Regions from separate parts of the Homo sapiens genome. Here region 2 is linked to region 1. Evidence: promoter capture Hi-C in human tissues and cell types (Jung and others, 2019). All regions are on one chromosome and are shown on one strand. The core of a region is centred on a gene start or on the middle of the fragment in contact, and the rest is flanking DNA. Distances in the headings are between cores, read along the strand shown.

Region 1 (5,906 bases), core at 2,394-4,893:
GCTTTTCTTCCTGTCTTTGTTGCAAGAACTAAATAAAGTATGGTAATGTTTGGACATGTTTTATAAACTCCAATGTGCTAGGAGAATATTAATTGACATGTTATATTGTCAATATAAATATAAATAAATATTTATATAAAGATATAAAAATATAAATGGGATCCCGCATGTCTAGAGTCTCTGGTGAGGCTTCAGTGAGTGCCTCCAGGCCAGAACATCAGGTCATGGTTGGAGGATGTGCCCAGGTGATTGTTTGGCATCCAGTGGCTTACCCTGACCATTTCTCATAGAGCACACTCCTGAGAGCATGACCACAGACCACCCTCACCAGAACTATCTAAGGAGCTCATGAAAATGCAGACTTCCAGACCTTCTGATTTGGAAACCCCAGGGGGTGTGGCCCAGGAATCAAACTCTTTAACCAGCACCCCAGGCTTACCAGGTGACTCTGATACACACAAAAGTGTGAGAATCACAGATCCAATAGTGACCCCAAAACATTGGCTGATTTACTCCACAGACAGTACTTGGGCACTATCTTAGTCTATTTTGTGCTGATATAACAGAATACCTGAGACTTGGTAATTTGTAATGAATAGAAATTTATTGTTCATGGTTCTGGAGGCTGGGAAGTCCAAAATTCAGGGGCTGGCATATGGTGAGGGACTTTTTGCTACATCATCCCCTGGCAGAAAGTGGAAGAGCAGAGGGAGGGAGACACACAGGGAGAGAGAGAGAGAGAGAAGGAGGGGGTGGTGGCAAACTCATCCTTTAATAAGGAACCCATTCCCATGATAATGGCACTAATCCACTTATGAAGGCAGTGCCTCCATGAGTCAAACACCTCCCATTGGGACCCACCTCCCAATACTGTTGCATTGGGGGTCAGGTTTCCAACACATGAACTTTGGGGGACACATTCAAACTATAGCACAAATAGCTCCTATCTCCTGCCAGGAGCTATTTGTAGGGGACACTTCCTTGGCAGCAGGAGAGACACACAGATGAACAGCGTCCTCTGCTGTCATATAACAGGTATTTAATGAGACATGTAGCCAACACTAAAATCTGTAGGCTACATGAGGGGGCCAAGGGTTGATGATATTGCTAGCATTCTGCCCTGTTTCCTTCTCTGGGAAGCAAAGCTAAACGTACACATTACCTTATGTAGTCATCACCACGGCTCTGAAAGGTAAATAAGAAAACCTAGCCTCAGGGATGTTGAGTAAGTTGCCCAGGGTCCTATGAAATCAGTGAGTGGTGTGTCGTTAAATGTTTAACCACAGGCTGGGGTGGGAGAAGCCCTGATCTATGGAGTTTGCTGATTTCTATAATGCAAAAACTCATTGTGGTGGATTTTAAGCAACCAACATGCTGTCACTGAAGCAGAGATGGAGAGAGATGCCCATAATGGGCCCTTTTGAGCTGGTGTGAGCTGGCTTCAGAACTCCACTGTCTGCAGCTGTCAGTCACTCAGATAACTGTCAATGAGTGTCATCTGTGGACACACAGAGAAGAGAGGGAATCTTGTTTCTGCCCTCCTGACACCTCATTTCATGAGCATTTAATAAAGTTTGGATGTTTGTCCCCTCCAAATCTCATGTTGAAACATAATCCCCAATGTTGGAGGTGGGCCCTGGTGGGAGGCGAAGGCGATTGGATAATGGGGGCAGAGCCCTCATGAATGGGTTGGCACCATCCTGAATGACTTCTCAGTCCATGAGAGATATGGTGTTTAAAAGCCTGGGACCTCCCCCTTCTCTTTCTGGCTTTCACTCTTGCCATGTGACATGCCTGCTCCCACTTTGCCTTTTGCCATGATTAGAAGCTTCCTGAGGCCCTCATCAGAAGCTGAGCAGATGTTGGAGCCATGATTGCATACCTTGCAGAATCATGAGCCAATTCAACCTCTTTTCTTCATCAATTACCCAATCTCAGGTATTCCTTTACAGCAAAGAAAAATGGCACAATACAGCATCTACAATGTGCTTGGTACTATGTGAAGGAGATAATTAAGTATAATGAGGTCTCTACCTTCAGGGCGTAGAGTCCACCACGTCCTTGCTTGGCTTACTTTATCTAGTGGCTTGAGGCCCAGGAATGTCCAGTCACCACTGGCCACACCAGGAGGCTCCAGAACAGGGCTTTCTATGTCCAGGACAGGGATCTGAGGTTGCTGACATGGTGCAGGGGGTCACTGCAGGGCAGCATCTCACAGAGTTGAAGGGGGCTGCAGGGGTTCTGAGAGCTGCCCCTGCCTGTCCATCCCCACCCCTTCCCCACAGAGTCTTGGTTGAGAACCGAAGGGCCACAGTCCCTGCACACTTTGCTGAGGGGAGGCAGGGGTCCCCTGTGTCCAGGGTCTCTGTTGCTTGGACCATGCCTGCCAGCTGACACCCTCCCCATTTTCTGAAGAGTTCTGGCACCTTATATCAGGCAGGTCCCTCATAAACTAGAATGTGCTGCCTCACCAGTCTCAGGGCAGAGGGGTGTGTGGCTTCAGGGCTACAGGAGGCAGCTGCTGGAACTTGGAGCAGGACAACAGAGTATCCACCATACTAGGGTTAGCTGTCTAGGCTGGTTGTGGACAGCCTGGCTTGCCCAGGTGGGAGCAGTCAGGGTCAGCAAAGGCATCTCCCAGCTGGAGAGATGCCCAGGGGATGTTACAGAGAGCCTCGGGGTCCCTGCAGCAGGCTTAGGATTCAGCCGAAGCTCTGGCTGTAGGGCGAGGGAAAGAAGGCACTGAGAATCGAGTAACCTCAGTCATGCAGCAGCTGTTCTTGGGACAGACAGGCTGGGACACTCACGTCAAGGTCTGCCAGGATAGCATGCAGGCGGGGACAGGTGGCACTGGGGCGTGAAGGTGTCCAGGCATCCCTTCCTTTTCTCAGAGAGATTTCCTTGACTCAGCCTGTCTTTGACACACACGGGGGGATGGAGGATGTTGGGGGAAGGGAGCCACAGTGAGCCAATCACCCTGCACCGGAGCCTTCGGGGCTGGTTCCCTCCGAGCCTGTAAGTGTGAGTGTGTGTGCGCGAGTGTGTCTGTGTGTGCACCAGTGGGGATTTCTGTGATAGAAGCAGCCAGATTCCAGAGACAGAGAGAAGAGGAGGGGGAAGAACAAGAGAGGGGAGAAAATTGGGGGTGGGAGAGACAGACGGAGAGAACAGCGCGGGGGGCGGGGAGAGGGAGAGAGGTGGAGGGGAGAGCAGAGAGAGAGAGAGCGAGCCAGAGAGCAGAGAGGGAGGAAGAGAGAAAGCAAGAGAGCGGGAGGGTGCGCGGAGCGGAGCGGAGACAGAGCTCGCGGGCATGGGGTGAGAGCGGGAGGAAGCAGAGGCAGAGGCGGAGCAGGGGCGCAGGTGCCTGCAACCCAGGATCCCGGGGCGCTAAAGGCTTCGGGTTCTACCGCACGCTCAGTCGCTGGCTCCAGAGGTGCTGCTGGGGGCCAGGGTTCACTGCCGCGCGCCAGGTGCCTGCCCGTGAGGCGGCGCGGGGCTCCCGGGTGGCTGCGCGCCCAGACGCCTGCCCGGGAGGCCGCCTGAGGCTCCGGGGTGGCCGCGCGCCCTCCTGGGAGCCATGGCGGCTGGGGCCGGTGGTCGCCGGGCGGCGGCGGCGCCGAGGGGCTGAGCCGGCCGCGGGCAGCGCCATGGCGGCGCCGGGTTGCGGACCCTGAGCGCCGGCGCGGGGCGCGCACCATGAACTCGTGGGACGCGGGCCTGGCGGGGCTACTGGTGGGCACGATGGGCGTCTCGCTGCTGTCCAACGCGCTGGTGCTGCTCTGCCTGCTGCACAGCGCGGACATCCGCCGCCAGGCGCCGGCGCTCTTCACCCTGAACCTCACGTGCGGGAACCTGCTGTGCACCGTGGTCAACATGCCGCTCACGCTGGCCGGCGTCGTGGCGCAGCGGCAGCCGGCGGGCGACCGCCTGTGCCGCCTGGCTGCCTTCCTCGACACCTTCCTGGCTGCCAACTCCATGCTCAGCATGGCCGCGCTCAGCATCGACCGCTGGGTGGCCGTGGTCTTCCCGCTGAGCTACCGGGCCAAGATGCGCCTCCGCGACGCGGCGCTCATGGTGGCCTACACGTGGCTGCACGCGCTCACCTTCCCAGCCGCCGCGCTCGCCCTGTCCTGGCTCGGCTTCCACCAGCTGTACGCCTCGTGCACGCTGTGCAGCCGGCGGCCAGACGAGCGCCTGCGCTTCGCCGTCTTCACTGGCGCCTTCCACGCTCTCAGCTTCCTGCTCTCCTTCGTCGTGCTCTGCTGCACGTACCTCAAGGTGCTCAAGGTGGCCCGCTTCCATTGCAAGCGCATCGACGTGATCACCATGCAGACGCTGGTGCTGCTGGTGGACCTGCACCCCAGGTGAGCCGAGCGCAGCTAAGGCTCTGGGAACAGCCGCGCGGGATCTCGGCGGGAGTGGGAGGTCCCTAGCCCCAGGGGCTCTTTTCCACCGAGCCTCTGTTTCTTCTGAGAACTCGAGGGTGGGGAAAGCGGCCCAGCTGTGGGGCTTAAGGAGGTGCTTAGGGTATCAGCAAACCAGGGCCACAAAAAATGCGGGTGAGCCCATCTATACATCGGTTTTTGAAGCATCAGGGTAGAAATCACAGACAGTCAGAACTCTGTTGGGCTTCTTCATGCACATTTTCTGTGTTTGTAGCTTTCACTTTAAATGGCACATGGGAAGTCCGTGGTCTTTGTTCCCTATTAAAGACCTTCAAAGTGTTTGATTCTGGCCGAGAGGGCGGCCTCGATGCTTAGGGAGCTCCTTAAGAGCTTTTCAGACCCAAGTGTGTCGCTTCTCTGAGTCTTTCCCTTCTCGGGTGTGTGGCGCTGCCTCTGTCTCACGACTGTGTGTGTGTGTGTGTGTGTGTGTGTGTGTGTGTGTGTGAATTCTGATGGACTCGGGCTGCGTCCTTCTCTGTGGTGGGCCCTGAGGGGTGGGGTGGGGGGCTCTTCCTGCCCTCCCCAGAGAGCACTGTCCAATGTCTGCCTGACTTGGTGCCTAGAGGCTCCTGCAGAAGGAGTGTGCCCCAAGGCTCCTGGGGCTGAATCTGCCCCCACCTCCGTCGTCACGCTGGCTGCTGTTCTCAGGAGGGCAGATGGAGCTGGGCAAGCATGGGTACCCTCTGGGAACCCCTGCCATCGCAGGAGCCTGTCAGGGAGAGAAGGAGGGAACTCTTAGCTGCGCTGTCCTGAGCTCACCTCAGCTTTCCCCAGGAGAATAGGAAATCGAGGAGGGAAACAGCTGGCAGCGTCTGGACTCTGCTATTTTACATCCTGTTGTCCCAGGGGAAGGCAGGCTCCCTGCTCTGTGTCCTGGGACCCTAGATAAGGGGGTGCTGGGGTCCAGATGGTGTCGCAGGTGAGGCAGGCAGAGAGCTCTGACAGGGCCAGCGAGGGCCTTCCGTGTGGGAGAACCCTGGGAACCCAGGGGAGCCTCGGGGCAGAGGAAGCTCTATCCTCTGGTGGATATGTTCCACACCAGGGTTGAAGGGGACAGGCTGGAGGTGTCAGGCTGAGCATTCTGAGTATTTCCTGCACGAGAGCAGTAACAAGCAGTCCTTGACCTTCACAATGCCGACACATTGAAGGGCAAGTGTGCACGTGTTCATTGTCCCCCTGAGCACAGCCATTCCTGATTACACACTGGACCAATCTTCCAGCCACAGAATCCCCACAGATTCAGGAACAGAATGTACATGTGAGTGACTGAGAGCACATAGATACCAGGCCATGTAAACGTGGGAGCTCCACACACAATCTCATGTGTTCACACATAAACTGTATATGTACCAGACAGCTGGCCATGTGTACACAGGTTTACAGGAGTGACACGAGTGCATTCTGCCACAAAGACATACATTGGCTGTCACAGCACATGTCTCTGCATGGTTCAGTGTCCTT
Region 2 (6,063 bases), core at 2,190-4,689, 72 kb before region 1:
CTTTTAATACTTGTATTAAAGAATAAAAAAGGTCTCACATTAATGGTTTGAGTTGCCATCTAAAGACACTACAAAAAAGAAGATCAAATTAAACCCAAAATAACCAGAAGGAAGGAAATGCATTTAGCCTTTTTTTGAGCAACATGGGTTTGAATTGCATGGGCTCATTTATACATAGAGTTTTTTCCCCCAACCAAACATAGATAAAAAATACAGTATTTGTGGGATCTGAAACCCACATATATGGAGGGCCAACTTTTCATATACACAAGCTCTACAGGGCTGATTTCAGGTCTTAAGTATGTGTGGATTTTGATATATGCAGAGATCCTAGAACCAATCCCCTCTGTATACCAAGGGATGACTGCAATAGAGAGCAGAAATTAGTAAAATAGAAAACAAAGAGAAAAGAGTAGAGAAATATCAATGAAACCAAAATTTGGTTCTTTGAAAAGATCAACAAAATTGATGTCCTAAATCTATTTAAAAATTAAGTCTGTAGTTAAAACACCTTTCCACAAAGAAAACTCCAGGGCTGCATGACTTCAATGATGAGTATGCTACCAGACATTTAACGAGAAGATGATGCCAACTCTACACAAACTCTTCTAGAAAATGGATGATAAGAAACACTTTCCCACTAATTTATGAGGCCATCATTATTCCGATACCAAAACCAGTGATATACATTATAAGGACATAAAACTACAGATGAAAATTTCTCATTAAAATAAATTCTATAATCTTCAACAAAATAGTATTAAATTGAATGCATCAGTGTATATAAAAATAAGCTATGACTTGATGGGATTTATCATAGAAATGCATAGTATGACTTTTAGAAAGCAATCAATATAATTCATTATATTAACCAACAAAAAATAAAAAACAATACTATCACCTCAGTATATGCAAAAAATGCATTTGGCAAAATTTCATACCCATTCATGACATGAACTATCAACAAGTAGGAACAAAAAGAACTGCCTCAATATTGTTTAGAAAAAATCTCCAGCTAACCTCAGTCTTAATGGTAAAAGTCTGGATGCTTTCCCCCTAACATCAGAAAGCAGGCCAGAATGTCTTTGCTTAACACTTTTGTTCAACATTGTACTGGAGGTCATAGTCAGTTTATTAACAGAAGAAAATGAAATAAAAGAACAAAATGGGGAATGTAAAACTGTCTTTATTCACAGACAACCTGATTGTCTATATAGAAAATACTGACAGTGTTTCTTCGTTCATTTTGTGCTGCTATAACAGAACACCACAGACTGAGTAATTTATAAAGAACAGGAATGTTTTGACTCCTGATTCTGGAGGCTGAGAAGTCCAAGATCAAGGGGCAGGCATCTGGCAATGGCTTCCTTGCTTGTTATATCATCCCATGGCAGAAAGGTAAAGAGAGGGTGAGAGAGAGAGCAAGATGCTTAACTTTCAGCCTTAATTTTAGCCTTTTTATAAATGCATTAATCCATTCATGAGGGTGGAGACTTCATAACCTAAACACCTCCCATCACCATTGCATTGGGAATTAGGTTTCCAACACGTGGTTTTTGGGGAACACATTCAAACCACAGCAGAAATATTTTTAAATTTATTAGCAATAATAAATGAGTTTAGCAAGATCATAGGGTACAAAGTTGTTATACAAAGTCAGCAGTATTTCTCCATACTAACCACAAATAATTGGAAATTGGAGTTAAATAATATTTAATCCATTAATGAGGGTGGAGACCTTATAACCTAAACACCTCCCATCACTTTTGCATTGGGGATTAGGTTTCCAACACGTGCTTTTTAAAGGACACATTCAAACATTTAAAATAACACCCAAATTATGAATATCTAGGAATAAATTTAACAAAAGATATACAACACATGTATACTACAAAGCTGTTTTGAGAGAAATTAAAGAAGATCTAAGTAAATAGAGATATACCATGCTCATGGATAAGAATCTCATTAATTCTAAGATATAAATTTTCCTAAATTGGCCTATAGTTAAAATATTATCATAATCAAAATCTCAGCAGGGTCCTTTGTAGACATTAACAAAACAATTTAAAATTTGTATAAAAATACAAAGGATGTCGACTAGCCAAAACAATTCTGAAAATGAACAAAATTGGAGGATTTGTACTAACTGATTTCAAGGCTTACTAAAAAGCTTCAGTAGTCAAGCCAGTGTGGATTTTGGCTATATATATATGTGTGTGTATATATATGTATATATATACACATACATCTCTTTCATATATATACACATATATATGTATATACATATATATGTATATACATATATATACATATATATACATATATAAATATATGAAAGAGAATAGAGACTCCAGAAATAGACTCACACATATATAGTCAATTGATTTTTTACAAGGCTCCAAGGCAATTCAATGTGTAAATGTTAATGGAATACCTGGATATCTACACAGAAAAAAGTTCCCAAACCTTACTGTACATTGAATAAAAAATTAACTCAAATAGTGTCATAAACCTATATCCAAGAGCTAAAACTATTGTGCTTCTGGAAGAAAAAAAAGAGCAGAAAACCTTTTTTGACCTTGGATTAAGTTAATATTTTTAAATAGGACACAAAAAGCACAAATTTTAAGAAAACACACACATAAATATTGAACTTCACCAACATTATAGACTTCTGCTCTTTCAAAGATAATGTTAAAAAGATGAAAAGGTAAGCTACAGCCTGGGAGAAAATATTTGCAAAACATAGATCCAATCAAAAGTCTTGCATCCAGAAAATACAGCCCAATTTTTTTTTTTTTTTTTTTTGAGATGGAGTTTTGCTCTTGTTGCCCAGGCTGGAGTGCAATGGTGTGATCTCGGCTCACTGCAACCTCCGCCTCCTGAGTTCAAGCAATTCTCCTCTCTAAGCACCCCGAGTAGCTGGTATTACAGGCATCCACCACCACGCCCAGCTAATTTTTGTAATTTTAGTAGAGATGGGGTTTCACCATGTTGGCCAGGCTAGTCTTGAACTCCTGACCTCAGGTGATCTGCCTATCTTTTAAAAATGGTCAAAACATTCCGACAGACCCTTTACCTAAAATGTTTTTCAGATGGCAAGTAAGGAAACAAAAATATGCTCAACATTATTAGTCATTAGGGAGATGCAGATTAAAACAAAAATGAAATGCTACACACCCCCCCACACATACACACAAATGACTATAATTAAAGAGATGGACAACACCAAATATTGGTGAAGATGAGGAACAGTTGGATTTTTAATACATGGTTCATGGTACAGCCACTTTAGAAAGTATTTTGAGGCCAGGCACGGTGGCTCACGCCTGTAATCCCAGCACTTTGGGAGGCCGAGGAGGGTGGACCACAAGGTCAGGAGATTGAGACCATCCTGGCTAACACGGTGAAACCCAATCTCTACTAAAAAATATATAAAAAATTAGCCAGGTGTGGTGGCAGGCACCTGTAGTCCCAGCTACTCTGGAGGCTGAGGCAGAAGAACGGTGTGAACCCGGGAGGTGGAGCTTGCAGTGAGCCAAGATGCGCCACTGCACTCCAGCCTGGGTGACAGAGCAAAACTCCGTCTCAAAAAAAAAAAAAAAAAAAAAAAGAAAGGAAGAAAGCATTTTGACGTGTCTTAGAAAATTAAACAATCATGTAGGATATGACCCTGGCATTCCACTCTTTACCAAATGAGAACATATGTCCACACAAAGGCCCTGCCTACTAATGTTTATAACAACTTTATTCATAATATCCAAAACCTAGAAACAACCCAAAGTCCATCAACTAGTGAATAGATGAACACATTGTGGCATACCCATAGAGTGAAATATCACTTAGCTATAAAAAAGAGCAAACTGCCAATATATTCAACATGGGTGCATCTCATAAGTATTATGTCAAGTGAAGAAGCTAGACACAAAACAATGTATTATATGATTCCATTTATATGGAATACTTTAAAAGGAAATTATAGTAATGGAAATCACATCAATGGTTGCCAGTGCCTGATGAGTAGCAAGGGATTGACCACAACGGGGCATTTAGGACCTTTTCAGGGAGGTGGAATAGTCTCTATCACGATTGTAGTGGTATCCCACTAGTGGATATATTTGTCAAACTCATTGAATTGTACACTTAAAATTGGCAAATTTGATTGTATGCAAATTTTACCTCAATAGAGCTGACAAAGATTAATGATAGGCTGATAGTATCTGGTCTCCATGGTACCTACCTCCTGCACTCTCTGGGTCTCCAATCCCTGAAAAGAGAGAAGCTAGGGGAGGACCAGCATCTTTGCTCTGTGTATCTGTGGTGCTGGGAGGGACAGCATCCCTGGAAGATGTTCAATGTCTGTAGAAGTAGCATCCACTCAGGGAGAGCGCTGAAGGCACTGCTACACATTTTTATTCATATCGCCCCCTAAGGAGCGTTTTGAGACCTGTTTTCCTAATCGATCCACCCCCATGACATTTTAATACAGATGTACTGTACAGCTATTTATGTTATGTATGCATATCTGTGCTTCATACATAAAAATAGTAAGATTTTATTCTCCCCCAAAGAACCAATTTTTGCCACCTTCTGGGCAACATTGCCTATTGAGAATGGACAGGTGAGGAAGGAAGCCAAAGGTCAGACTTTACTTTCAAGATTTTACTGGGTCAGATTTTACTTGCCCAGATTTTACTGGGCAAGCTTGTCTTCTTTCTCCTTCTCTTCAGTGAAGTAACAGGCTACCAGGTAGGAGGCTGGGCATAGCTGGGTCTGATGATAGGCTCTGAGGACCAAGGTGGGAAGGTGCTGTCACTCCATGTGGTCAGTGATGGACTTTGAGCACCTGGCAGGGGCCCAGCCACACCCTGCTCAGCACACTTATCACCCCATGTGTCTCCAGAGGCCCTGGGACGTGGGCAGGCACATCAATAGTTGCTCACTGGAGTCGTTCTGCTTCCACAAGGCTTTCAATAGCAAAACAGCTCTTATCTATGAAATATGATTCCTTGGAACCCCTCTTATCTAAAGAAAGTTATGAGAGGGGCAGAATAATGCTGCTTCTTTGGAGGTAAATGCTCAGTTTGGCTTCCTCATAGGTATGTGAGGAGCAGAAGGAAAAGTTGCTTTCAAGAAAGTCACTCAAAAAAGCAGACATAAATATGAAAATATTTGTAGGCACACATGTTGAGGAAGAGGACAAAGGGTCTGGCTGCCCACCTCCCAGGCATTTTCCTCATTTAGAAGTGGCCCCCACTCACAGGGGTGGCCCCCAAGGGCTTTCTGGGCTTTGTGATCTTGTCCCCATGGCCATAACTGGTTGGTCCAAGTAGAGACATTTGATCCAAGCCAGACCAATCACATTCCCTGATCCAACTATTTGAAACCTGGTGCCAAGAGACACACAGAGATCTTTGGAATTGGGCTACTTCAATGACAAACACCTGGACAAGGCCCATGGTCCCTCGTCTGAGGGCCCCAGAACTGCTCTGATCTTACTCTAACCACAGATTGGGTGCTCAGAATCTCCTTTGTGGTCTCTGAACTTCACCAATAAGCCTTCCAATTAGCTCCATGGGTCCAGGCATGGCACATTCCAACCTGCATATTTTGGCCAGATGACACTATGGCTGCTCTGCCCTACAGGTTCACTCTTTATCCCAAAAACTCAGCTGAGGAAGAATTCCCAAAATGGCTCTCTTTCCTTCAACCCTAGCACCTCCAGATGTCAAATTGCAAAGATGGCATGTGTCTCACCCTCAGATCTCAACAAGTGGCACTGTCTCTGTGTCTGTCCTCCACCGGCTTTGTGGCCAAGGAGAGCTATGAGGAGGTGTCCCCAGACATCCTCACTCTGTGCCTAAGAATGGAGGAGGGGGAGGCAGAAAACACATGGCATCGTGCCTGTCACAGTTGAGGGTGATGGATGAGGAGGCAGGGCCCAGGGACTCACCATTGTTTCTGGGGAGGGCAGGATTCTCCACTCCTGAAACACCAGGTTTTTGTTCTCAAATCACTTGCTCCTAGGGCCCTGAGCACTCCACTTTCCTCTAGCACCAGATC

The links. Contacts are between HindIII fragments. The study calls those that stand out against the background at their distance.
Region 2: a fragment that was not itself captured here is called in contact with the fragment with the promoter of GPR26 in region 1 in 4 of the 25 tissues and cell types used here (H1 embryonic stem cells, heart right ventricle, mesendoderm cells and 1 more).

What each region holds. Positions count from the first base shown.
Region 1 is chr10:123,662,712-123,668,617 of GRCh38, forward strand. GPR26 (G protein-coupled receptor 26) reads left to right here and starts at 3,644. Exons shown (of 3, transcript NM_153442.4): 1 at 3,644-4,364. The coding sequence starts at 3,697. RefSeq lists enhancers at 2,852-3,389, 3,390-3,928, 3,929-4,466. The HindIII fragment of the contact is 11,073 bases long and covers 915-5,906 here.
Region 2 is chr10:123,591,016-123,597,078 of GRCh38, forward strand. No RefSeq gene overlaps it. Among named protein-coding and RNA genes, the nearest start is that of GPR26, 72 kb to the right of the region's middle. The HindIII fragment of the contact is 5,225 bases long and covers 828-6,052 here.